2 separate regions of the Homo sapiens genome follow, and region 1 is linked to region 2. The links are contacts of gene promoters, found by promoter capture Hi-C in blood cells and fetal thymus (Javierre and others, 2016). All regions are on one chromosome and are shown on one strand. The core of a region is centred on a gene start or on the middle of the fragment in contact, and the rest is flanking DNA. Distances in the headings are between cores, read along the strand shown. Region 1 has its middle 84 kb from the start of HTR4. Region 2 holds the start of ABLIM3 (actin binding LIM protein family member 3).

Region 1 (5,695 bases), core at 462-2,961, 400 kb after region 2:
ATTCTTTATCCCATTTAACAGCTATTTATTGACTGAGCACCCACTTACTATGTGCCAATAACTGACCCAGACAAACCTCTGTTCTTCTTTAGTCCCTCATGTATTGATCACTTTCTGCAGGTGGATCATGTTGTTTGGAGCTTTGGCGCTTGCAGTTTGGTGTTGACAGTTTTCGGTAAACAGAGCCATGGGAGGTCAGGTTTTTTGGTGCGAAGGTCAAACCCTGGCATCTCTGGGACTCATACAACTTGCTGTTTTGGACTGATTAGTAACTATTAAAAATGTAAACAAGCTGGGGAGATTTAGAACCCAGAGGATTTCACACATGCAGACGTACACACCCCACAAGGACTTGAGTCCTCTCTGGGACAGTCACGAGATTTGGCTGCTGCTGCTGGTATTCTTGCATTTCAACAATTGGCTGGAGCTGAGAAGCAGCTGCCCCTTTAGACGCAGCTACTCTGTCAGACCCACATTGGCTGTTCTGTCCACTCACTTATTTCAGTTTGATCTCTTTTCCGAGATATCCAGGCATTTGGTGGATTTTGATTCTCCATGTTTATTCCTAAGGAAACTTATCTCCAAATCTCTCCAATCTTTCTTCCAACAAAGCCCAGTTTCCAGAAGAAGTAATTATAACTGCACAATTATCAAGGGCATAATATATTTCTTGATAACCCTGACATAAATTAAGGGCCATTTATTTGTCTGGGTTTCTGTTCCTGTTAAAAATAATCTCTTTGCTCAATGTCCCACACTTGGTTATTTTCCTTCCTCTTTGCTTGGTGAAACAGAAGGCTCTTTTAGAGATTTTGACTGTTTCTCATTATTATTTATCCAACAGATACTTAATGAGCACTTCCTAAGTGCCCGGACCTCTGCTTCATGTGAGAGATGTATCTGAGAAGGGGACGGACATGCACCTAACGGTGCCAGCGATGTGGCCATTATGAAAGATCGTGATGTTGTAGGAACATACAGAAGGAACACTGTGCCTAATATGGGGATGGGAATAGGATCGAGGGGATGTTCCTAGAAAAATTAATGTTGAAGCTTAGACCTTGAGATAAGTAGTGATTTGCCAAGGAGGGAGAACCTTGCACAAATGCCCAGACCAGATTCGAGAGAGTCATGGGGCATGGAGAGGAACTGAATAGTGTCCTTGAGCTCTGCCGAGGAGCACAGACTTTATCTGGAGGGTAACAAGGAGCAAAGAGAGCTTATGAGCAAGGGAGTGAATATTTAGGTCTGTGTTTTTAGAACATCACTCCATCTCTTAAAACTTATTTTAGGAGACTTGGCTGAGAGCTAGGGCTCTCATTCCTTTAGACACTTTCTAGTTCAGTTTTATAAGGGACAAGTTTATTCTGAAGGACTCCAGGAGAGGCACCATCAACATCCTCACAGTGCTGCTGTGCTGGCTGTTGCTTCGCCCCTGGGGCCTCTCTTGTTTTGCCCTTTAGATTCTTGTTGTTTTTGCCCCACTTTCCTTGTAGATATCTCTTGTTTTCTCTGTAGTTCCCTCATCGCTTTCCACGTAATTAAGGCATCTTCCTGGAGCTACTGAGGGTTTGTGGTTGCCTGGAGAACCACAGCAACAATGTCATGAGCTCCCCCACCCATCCCAGGGAGCCCTGGGATCAAAAAGTCAGCTTCAAAGCCTAGTTGGAAGTAGTCAATGCAAAGCCAAAAGTCAACAAACATTTCTCCAGAGTCTTGGCACCAGAAGGCCTTTCTCTTGTTCCTTTTACTCAATTCCCAGCTGGTTAGCAGCCTGAACTTCTGCCTACCATCCCCTTCCATGGCAGCTCCCAACTGTGCTGTAAGATTATTGAGGGAGGCTAGGAATAGAGACTTAATACTGAGAAGACACTTAAGCACTTGATCCAATCCAATTCCCTATTTTATCAAGAATACCGTCCTGCTTCCTGACTTCCTGACTTTTGAAATGAGCTAGTATGGGTGCCTGACACTGCTGGTTCTGGTTTGAGCACATACAGTCACTGACTACGTGGACTCAGGAAACTATTTCACTTCTTTGGGCCCTGGTTTCCTTTTCTGTAAAGTGAGAATAATAATCCCTGCACTGCCTACTTCACAGGGTTATTTTGAGGAGGAGAAAATGACTCTATAGTTGCATTCAATCATTTACGAAAACATATATTGATTACTCAGCCATGTGCCAGCTAAAGGGGGATGAAAGCTCCTGTTAAACTGTAACGTGTTACACAAATATCACATTCTCAGATGTAGAAAACTCATTATCGACTGGGTCAGACTGGGTGTGTTTGTCCTGCTTCCCTCACCTGTCTTGCCTCCAGTTAGGTTCTTGGGTATTGCCCGCATGTAAACATTCAAGGCAAAGCTTTAGCAAGAAACCTAATACATAGAAAGTATTGACTAGCATTAGAAAGAGCTATGGTGACAAGGCCTCTGTGTATTTGAAAGCTTCATTAAGTCCCGCTGCAGACGGCCATATGTGATAGGATGGTATATCACACTTTTCCTATTATTCCAGTATTGACAAGTAGAACCCCAAACAATGGACAAAGAGGATCTAGTGCCACATTCTAAAGATTGCCAGCAATAGCTGGAGCCAGAACACTGTTCCCCCCACAAATCCCCAGGGCTTCTTAAAAGTCAAAACTGGCCCTGCTACCATGAGCCTTTCCGCTTTCTCCTCCCTCCTTCTTTCTAGGCTATGTAAGCAGACGTCTAGGAAAGGAGGAAAGGGAGGGAGAAGGAGTCATTACAGGAGTCAGACTGTAGGGAGGAAAGTGTTCATGGAAGGATCTATAGGGTTTAAAATCCCAATGGGAAAGAGATGGGATCCTCAAATTAGAACAATTCAGAGACGGTTTGCTTGTAAGGAGGAGGCACAAAGGCTGATGCAGTCACCCAGGGGTAGTGGCAGCAGAGGTGTTTCTAATTCTAAGCCCAAAGGGACGAAAGGAGGGAACTGCATTAAGAACCAGAAGGAGAGAGCCATCTTCAAATCTTTTAGAAATATTTTCCAGTGGTCAGGCAAGAGATAATGGTGGCCCTAATATAGAACTGTCAGGACAGTTGGAGAAAAAGGTGAAAGTATGAGAGCTATTTTGAAAACAGACTTATCAAGCCTTGTGGATGGAATGAATTAAAAAGAAAGAGAGGAGAAAAGGGCAACTTGTAGGTTTCAGGCTTGGGAAGCTGGGTTTTGCTTGGGAACATGATAGGGGTTTGGGGTTGGGTGGGAAGATCCACTCAATTTTGGACCTGCCAGGTTGAGATGAAAACATCTAGGTGGAGGTGTCCAGCATTCAGATGGATATGGCATCTGAGGCTCAGAAGAGAGACATCAGCTGGGGATGCAGAATTACATGTGAACAATAATAATTACATGTATTAAAGGCTGTCATGTAAGATGTCCAAGATGCTGAAAATATGATGCTTAGTGAATGAAGAAAGCAGCTCTTGGCATTTTGAAAAATTGTCTTTGCTACCTTGGAATTATGGCCACTCCTGAAAGAGATAATACCGTTATGCTCTCTTATGGTAATTACTACCCACAAAACAGCTGTTTTGCAGTAGAGGGAATTAAGGTTCAGAGATGTGAGTATAGTAGCTAGGATTATTACCCTTGCAAGTGACCAAAAGTCCTGTTTAAACCAGTTTAAATGAGCAAAGGAATTCATTGGCTTAAATCCAGGGGTGGCTTTTGGTTTGGGGCACAGTTTGATCTAGGAGTTCAGAGAATGTCATTGAGACACAGTGTGTCTACTTTTATATTTGCTCTGCTTTTCTCCATTCATGTATTGGCTTTACTTCATAGCTGGCTGTTTCGTGACAGCAAGATGGTTAGAGCAGCTCCAAGCCTCACATGCTCATGACCTCAAATCTATTGAACAGATAACCTTTCTCCCTCAGAAGTCCAGTTACAGTTCTCAAGTCTTTTCACTGGCTCTAACTGGGTCCTGTTCTCAGCCGTGGCCCATCACTGTGGCCAGAGGGATGGGATCTGCCAACTGGGGGAAGGGTCAGTCCCACCTAAACATTATGATTTCACAATAGAGGAGAGGTATATCCACAAGTGAAAAACAGGGTGCTATCACCTGAGAATTCACTTCACTCAAGTGAAGGAAAAAGACAAAATCCAGTGATCCAGGAAGAAAAGGATCTGTTTGAGGTCACTCAACTTGTTAATATCAGGCCAAAGCTAGATCTCAGGAGTTCACCCCACTTACTTTCTTCCACACTCTATTGCTACTTGTTTGATTTGTTTCCACCAAAGTTCCCAGAGACTTAAGGTGGTCAGAGGTCAGGAATGTGTTAACAGCAATAAGGGTAGTGATAAAAACATTCAAGAGGTCCCAAGTCATTCAGGATCTTTCTCTGGCCCAGGGTCACCAGTTGGCCAAAGTTGGACTAGAGAGTGACAGGGGAAAGGCACTGCCCAGGCTAGTGGGCAGGAGGACAGGTGAGCTGGAGAAGCTGCTGGAGACCCTGCCCAGGTCATACTCTTCTGGTCTGGCAGAAGTCAGACCTCAACATCCAGGGGACTTAGAAGACCTGCAAAGGGAACCAGCCCACAGAGGTTTCTAAAAGCGTCTTCAGTTCATTTTTCACTGCCAAGTTCTTCCATGTGACTTTGGCATTTTTTTTTTCTCTCTGCCTTCTCTGTCAGAAAGTTTTCCTGGTTTTGGTTATTTTTAGCCCAGTGTGGGCCCTTGGGGACCATCAAATCCAACTTTCTTGTTTCACAAAAGAGAGAAATGAGACTCTGTGTTTGAAAGCAAGTTGATTAAGTTCACACACTTTACTATCAGAGTCATCCTCCCACCCATGTCTCCCGACTTCCAGCCCAGGGATCCCACTGTACTTGGTTGCCTCCACCTGTCTCTTAATGATCTCAGTAAAGTGCCTGACTGGCCTCTGCCTTGTTAAGAGCTAAATGGCCTCCCAGGACTCCCAGGTGTGAATAGCTTTTACCTAGAAATAGAGTGGGTTCCCAAAGAAGATTTGCAAGTTGGTCTTTGGAAACTCAGAAACACAATTTCCCTAGGAAGATGGTTTTATATGTTTATAGGTTCTCAGTCTCACTTGCAAATCCCATAGAACCTGAGATAATACGTGCCAACGTGAAAATCAATAGCACATGACTGTTAATTCCTGTGTCTCCTGCTAAGGGTGGGGTACTGAACCACACTTTGGCACTTCTCTATAGAAAGGCTTTAGGGACCTCCGCAGGATATTTATTCTTTGGGAATTAGCTTGCAAGCAGTCTGGGACCCATTTACTTTCTTTGCTCTTTGAAGGATGGCTTCACTTTTCTCCAGGGCTGGCTCCAAGAGCTCATGATTTGTGCGCGTTGCACAGGGACCCACACTCAGAGGGCCATGCATGTGGTTTAATGCTCTGCTGTAGCCGTCCTGAAATCCTGAATAATTTTTTCTTTGAACTTGTGTTCTATAGGTAAAGTCCAATGAGACAGTGGAGCATGCATGGGATCAGAGGAAACACGTGTAATCTATGGGTCCACTGCCATTCCTTGCCTCCCCACTCACATATAACATTTAGGATGCCCTGGACAGAGAAGTCAACTGTACCCAGGACACATGGAGTGCAGTGAGAATCACAGCGAATACAGAGTGTGTTACATCTACTGGGTAAATGGGGACACTGACAGCCCCCAGGGGCCATGCTTTCTGTTCAGTGG
Region 2 (5,800 bases), core at 2,085-4,584:
ATTTCAGTGTTGACATTTGAATCATTGATTAGGAGTTGTACTCAGTGTCAAATGTGTTACACATCCAAGTACCTTTCATAACCCAACAATTAACTGCATGACTTGAAGAAGCCACTGAGCATTAACTACAACGTTTCTGAACACAGCTTCAAATTTTCACCCATAAAATGAGTAAAAACACCCATCTCACAGGTTGGGTGGGACAGTCTGGTGAGCTCAATCAGGGGAGTGCTTAGCATGGTGGCTGGTGGAGAATAAGGACTAAATAAATAGAAGTGAAAGAAAAACTAAGCAAGAGTTTCTATTAGGGACAATATCAGGCATGAGGATCAAGTTAAGAATTTCACATCTCAAAGGGGAGCTTTTTTGCTTAGTCAGGTGACCCAAGGACCTCCTGCCAATGCCCTATCCATATCACCCTATGGCTCTGTTACTCCTTTTCTTGTGAGGTCTGATGTCTACTCTCTGCATTTGCAGACTCGTGGGTTTGGGAGGTACCTCCATGATGATGGAGTTAAGCCCTCAAAGCTCTGTGCTTGCTGTGTCCCCCAGGTGTCTGTTTAGAGAAGCACTTCCTCCTGGGGGGAACCCGGAGGGCTTCCAAGGCTGCTGAGCCATTCTCCTCTGTTCATTTTCCATTACTGCAAAATTCACACACTCTCCCTGCTTATAAAAAGTAGTGGCATTTTTGCCAGTCCTCATATTCTGCAGTATCCAACTCTATTGATTCTTTTTTCTTTTCTTTCTTTCTTTTTCTTAAAAGAAGGATAGTCTGTTTCCTTCTTTCAGGAATACTCAGTGTTACTAATAGGACAAGAGTTCCTTAGCATTCCAGAGAGAGAAAAGGGCAGAGTCAGTTGCCTGTTTCTTTTCTTAGTTCCTTGAAAAATAGATGAGCCATCTTTCTTTTCTGTCACTTAGTGGGAAAGGACTCTCATAAATACATTTTTTTTTCCTAGAGATAGTGAGAAGTGACAGGCAACTCACATCTTTATTTGCCTGAAAACATGCAAATGCAAACATGTGACCCACTAGCTGATAGAGGCTACAGGATTTTCCTCTTTTCCTGAGCCTGGTATGAAGCCAAAACACCATTCCAGCCTGTCAAAATCAAAAGGCAAAATTCTTTGGCTGTAAGAGGCAGAGGGAGTCCAGCCACACTCGCTAGCTTAGCATAGATATGCAATACACAAAGGAAGACAGCAGAGAGATGAATCATACAAATACGTAGTAAATAAATATATTTTATTTTCATCTCAGTAGCTTTTGCTTTTTTTTTTCTCTTCCATGCTAGGAGGTGGGGGTGGGGTGGGGTGTGTGAGGAAATAGTAGGTTTTGGCTGGATACAGCTTCAATAAGGTCTTGATAGTTCTGGCCTTGTTGCTCAGCTCTAGCTTTTTAAGAAAAAAAGTGTAGATTCTTAGATTAGAAGGCTTTCTTTTATTATTATTATTATTATTTTTTGAGACAGAGTCTCACTCTGTCGCCCAGGCTGGAGTGCAGTGGTGTGATCTCGGCTCACTGCAACCTCTGCCTCCCAGGTTCAAGCAATTCTCCTGCCTCAGCCTCTTGAGTAGCTGGGATTACAGGCCCACACCACCACACCTGGCTAATTTTTGTGTTTTTAGTAGAGACGGGGTTTCATCATGTTGGTCAGGCTGGTCTCGAACTCCTGACCTCGTGATCCACCTGCCTCTGCCTCCCAAAGTGCTGGGATTACAGGCATGGAACACGGTGCCTGGCCGATTAGAAGGCTTTCTAATTCAACCCCTCTCATCATACAGATGAGCAGTCTGAGATGCAGAGAGGGGACTGATAACAAAGTCATAGACCCAGGGAAGTGACTGTTCATAGGGGTTCTCTGGTTCAACAGCCCTATGCGATGCTGGAATAACCTAGACAGGCCAAGCTGACAAGAGGGCAGGAGAGTGAGTCTGGAACCAAGATATGCCCTCCCAGGTCACAGCGCTACATTGAAGAGAAACAGACTGTGCCTTCTTGAATTTCGGACTGCATTCTCAGTAGCTGAGGCCCTACCTGGCAGCAAAATATCTGGTCCTGGCTCTGCAAGCAGTTGTTGCCTCTGGCATGTTAGAGCCCTTGGCCAAAGGGCTGTTCCTGTCTTCTTGTTCTCAAGGATAGCTAACCAGCCTGCAGGTACATAGAGAAACCAGCCCTGGGCCCACCGGGCTGCAGGCACTCGGGAGCTGGATCTTTCACAATCTCCAGACCCAAAGGTGGCTTGGCGATTATTTGTTTATCAAACTGCGGCTTCCCAGCCCACTGCCTGCCCACACCCACCTACCCTCCCGCCTGCCCACAGGCCAGCCTCCCTGCTCTTCCCACCTCTGGGACAGGCAGGGCCCTCCATGGTTTTCCAGATGTGTGCAGGGAGTTCTCCTCAGAGCCCCCACAGTCAGACAATGGCCACACACTGCTTCCTAGGCCTTCCCAGGCAGTGCTAGAAGGAGACGAGCAGCCTTCCCAGGAGAGGCGGCCGGCGCCGCTGATAAAATATTGGCAAAATTATCACGAAAAGCCAGAGTCATGAAGCTATCCCTCTGCCAAGGAGCACGGAAAGCACCAAAAAAGAGCCTGGGGGTCATGTGTCCAGAGATGCCAGGCTTCCTTCCTCTTTCCAGGCAGCCCGAGCGCAGGCTCCCTCACCTCCCGCCCCCACCCCTGTTCCCATGGCAAAGGAGAGGAGGATCCACTTACTGCTAGTGTTCATGGTGATGTCTTTGCACTGGGTCTTTCATTCAATACGGAGGCCCCGGCTGCTTTTTAAATCTTCCGTTCTTCGAACCTCACTCATCACCTGGGGGGTGAAAAGGCAGTCCAGTGCCAGCTCTGTATCCTCAGGTGCTCTCTCTCCCTCTGCTGTCCCCTCTCTGTCTGGGCTGTAGCCCCTGGCCTTGAAGGCGCGTGGACTAATAGGCGCAGGTGAGAGCAAGGAGAAGGAGGCGGCAGGACACCGGCGCCCCGGTCCTCCTGCTCCTCAGATTGGAATCCCGGGCAGAAGTGGGGTTGGCAGCGCCTGCTCGCGCGCACCCCGGACTATTCCTGCCCAGCGGCTCCGGAGCCCAAAGGGGGTGTGGACCACAGGGAGGCAGGGCGGGGGCAGCGCGTCCCCGCCCGGCTTCAAGGAGCAGCGACCCGCCCCGGAACCCACCTCTCGGCCAGTGTCGGGAGCCAGAGGCCCCTGCCCCGGCCCCTGCGACTGATTTCATGAATCCTGGTCCTCGTCTGGGGTCTCGAATTCCAGGGCTAGCAATGCGAAATAGGGGAGCTCGACATCCATGATGCGGGCTCGCGGGTTGGCAGCGCAGGGGGCGCGGCCGCTCGCTGCTGCCACCTGCTGGACGCACCGGCGCGTGTCCGAGGCCCCGCCCCGCCGGGCTTCTGCCTGGGCCCTAGGGTGTGATGGGAGATGGACGAGGCCTTGTGAGATGGACGAGGCCTTGTGTCCTGGGACCAACGAGGGAGTGCTTGAGCGCTTGTTTTCCCTCCCTCGATCCTGGGGTTCTAAGGGCTCGACAATGATAGGAAAAGAAACATCATTAGGAGGGGCCGTGAAGGAAAACCTGGCTTTGCAGGAAGACAGTTTCCACCCGGCTCTGCTCTGGCAAGCTTGGCGCAGTCTAGGCTCAAGCCGGTCACTACCGTCTCTGCCTCATCTTTCTCAACTATGAATATGGCGTCTGGACAAGTGGATAACACGTAAGGGGCTCTTCCAGCCTCCCAGCGTTTATGTCCCCTCTTCCCTCACAGATTCCCTTTATCCTCTATCGCTGATTCATCATTAGAATTGTTTATTACCTCTTTTCCCCACGAGAATGTTAGCTCCGTGAAAGAATGGGTCTGTCCGTAGGGTTCACCTACAGGCCCCCAATACCTAGCACAGGGCCCGGCATATAGTGGCTACCAATAAATATTTGTTGACAGAGCAACCCAGACATTTTCTGGGTTTAATATTACACAGCCCTAAGAGTAGACTGCCTAGGCGCCCCACCCTGAAACACTTCCCCGTCTGAGGAGAACAGCAGGTATGTGGCCTCACAGGTCCACCCTAGTTTTCATATGGTCAACTAACTCTTCCCCCAAGTTGTTGTTGTTTTTTTTTTTTTTTTTGTAATTATGTCTTATACGTGTGTATTGTAGAAGTTTATATTCCAAAGTGTTTTAGTCACAATTGATTCAGTGGGGTAGGGCTCTTTACATTCCTGTGACTACTTACTCTGTCACTTTCTGAACCTAATTCATGATCATAGAAGCATGACTTTTGAGTGCTGAAAAACAAGACTGTGAGGGCACATGATCCTTGTCTATAGCATGACTTCAATTAGAGCATGTGCAGACTCAAAAGGCTGTGAACACTCACAGCCCCAGCTTAGACAAGGAAACAGGGTGTCAGAGAGGCTGGGCAACGTGCCCTAAGACACACAGCATCTTGTGGCAGAATCGGACCAGATCTTCTCACTTCTAGCTTGATCCTGTGTGAGAGTGGCTCAGTGCACTAAAGTCTGGGATATCAGTGTGAGATTAGATAGCTGCCCTATTAAAATTGGGGAAAGACAAATACGATGTTTTTATACAATGCTTTTAGATAAATACAACGTTTCTACCTTACACAGGGAGGAAAAAAAGGATATGGCTCATGACCCCGAGAGGTGATCAGGATTAAAGAATCTTTGGATAAACCTAAGGATCAATAGATTTGAAACACATTTGATAGATTGTTAAGAATTTTGTCCACATGTTCTCACTCATAAGTGGGAGTTGAACAATAAGAGCACATGGACACAGGGAGGGGAACATCACACACTGGGGCTTGTTGTGGGATAGGGGACTGGGGGAGGGATAGCATTAGGAGAAATACCTAATGTAAATGATGAGTTGATGGGTGCAGCAAACCAACATGGCACATGTATACCTAGGTAACAAACCTGCACGTTGTGCACATGTACCCTAGAACTTAAAGTATAATAATAATTTTTTAAAAAAGAATTTTGTCCAATGGGGTGGAGGTAAAAATAGCCCTAATGTCCTCACGGTCGTTCTTAAAATTTTGTGTCGATAACAAACGCCTGAGATACCTCCAAAAATGCAGATTCCCAGGCCCTGGACTCCCTTGCTCAGCATTTGAAACAAGCATCCCAGGTGATTCATAGACAGCTCTTTGAAAAGGGTAGAGGCCTAAAATAGCTTTGAAAACGTAAGTGATTAGTAAATATTTAAATTATTCCACTTTATGTGTCCTCTACATTTTCAGATGGGATTCCTTGTTCAGTTTCCAAGTTGCAGGTAACTTGCTAGATTCTAATGCTTGGAAAAACATTTTTCTGGGAGAAAGTTCAGATAAATTAGACATGTAAAATTAACTGTTCTATTCCATGAGCATATTTAGTTATCACCCAAGGCCTCAATGTTCAGAAAATTTCAAATTATAAGAAATAGTCAAATGAAAGCATGATATTCATTCATTAGTTCATTCACTCAGCAATTATTTATCGAGGGTATGCTTTGTGGTAGCCCCAGTGCTGGCTTCTGGGGATACCGTGGAGAACAGGACAGACAAGAGCTCTACCCAATAATGGATGATTGCAGAAAAAATAAAAAATAAAGAAATAAAAAGAACTCCAACCTCATAAGCATAAATCCAATCCTGGGACAGCGGGGAGACAATTAACTAAGCAAAATATAAATTAGCTAAACCCGATGGTGGCCTGGGGAAGAGCCCAGGTGCCGTTTCCAGCCTTCCTGACTTTTAATCTCAGCTTCATCACTTTCTAGCTGTCTC

Evidence for each region. Contacts are between HindIII fragments. The CHiCAGO score rates a contact against its expected background, and 5 or more counts as called.
Region 1: a fragment that was not itself captured here is called in contact with the fragment with the promoter of ABLIM3 in region 2 in 1 of 17 cell types (erythroblasts); the score reaches 6.3 in erythroblasts.

The regions. Positions count from the first base shown.
Region 1 is chr5:148,735,718-148,741,412 of GRCh38, reverse strand. No RefSeq gene overlaps it. Among named protein-coding and RNA genes, the nearest start is that of HTR4, 84 kb to the right of the region's middle. The HindIII fragment of the contact is 1,312 bases long and covers 1,056-2,367 here.
Region 2 is chr5:149,139,027-149,144,826 of GRCh38, reverse strand. It overlaps ABLIM3 (actin binding LIM protein family member 3), which reads right to left and starts at 3,334. Exons shown (of 24, transcript NM_014945.5): 1 at 3,173-3,334; 2 at 2,719-2,818. The coding sequence starts at 2,731. It overlaps LOC124901102 (a long non-coding RNA gene), which reads right to left and starts at 2,711. Exons shown (of 2, transcript XR_007058988.1): 1 at 2,038-2,711; 2 at 1,229-1,394. RefSeq lists enhancers at 1,912-2,411, 2,412-2,913 and a silencer at 3,219-3,468. The HindIII fragment of the contact is 6,101 bases long and covers 1-3,632 here.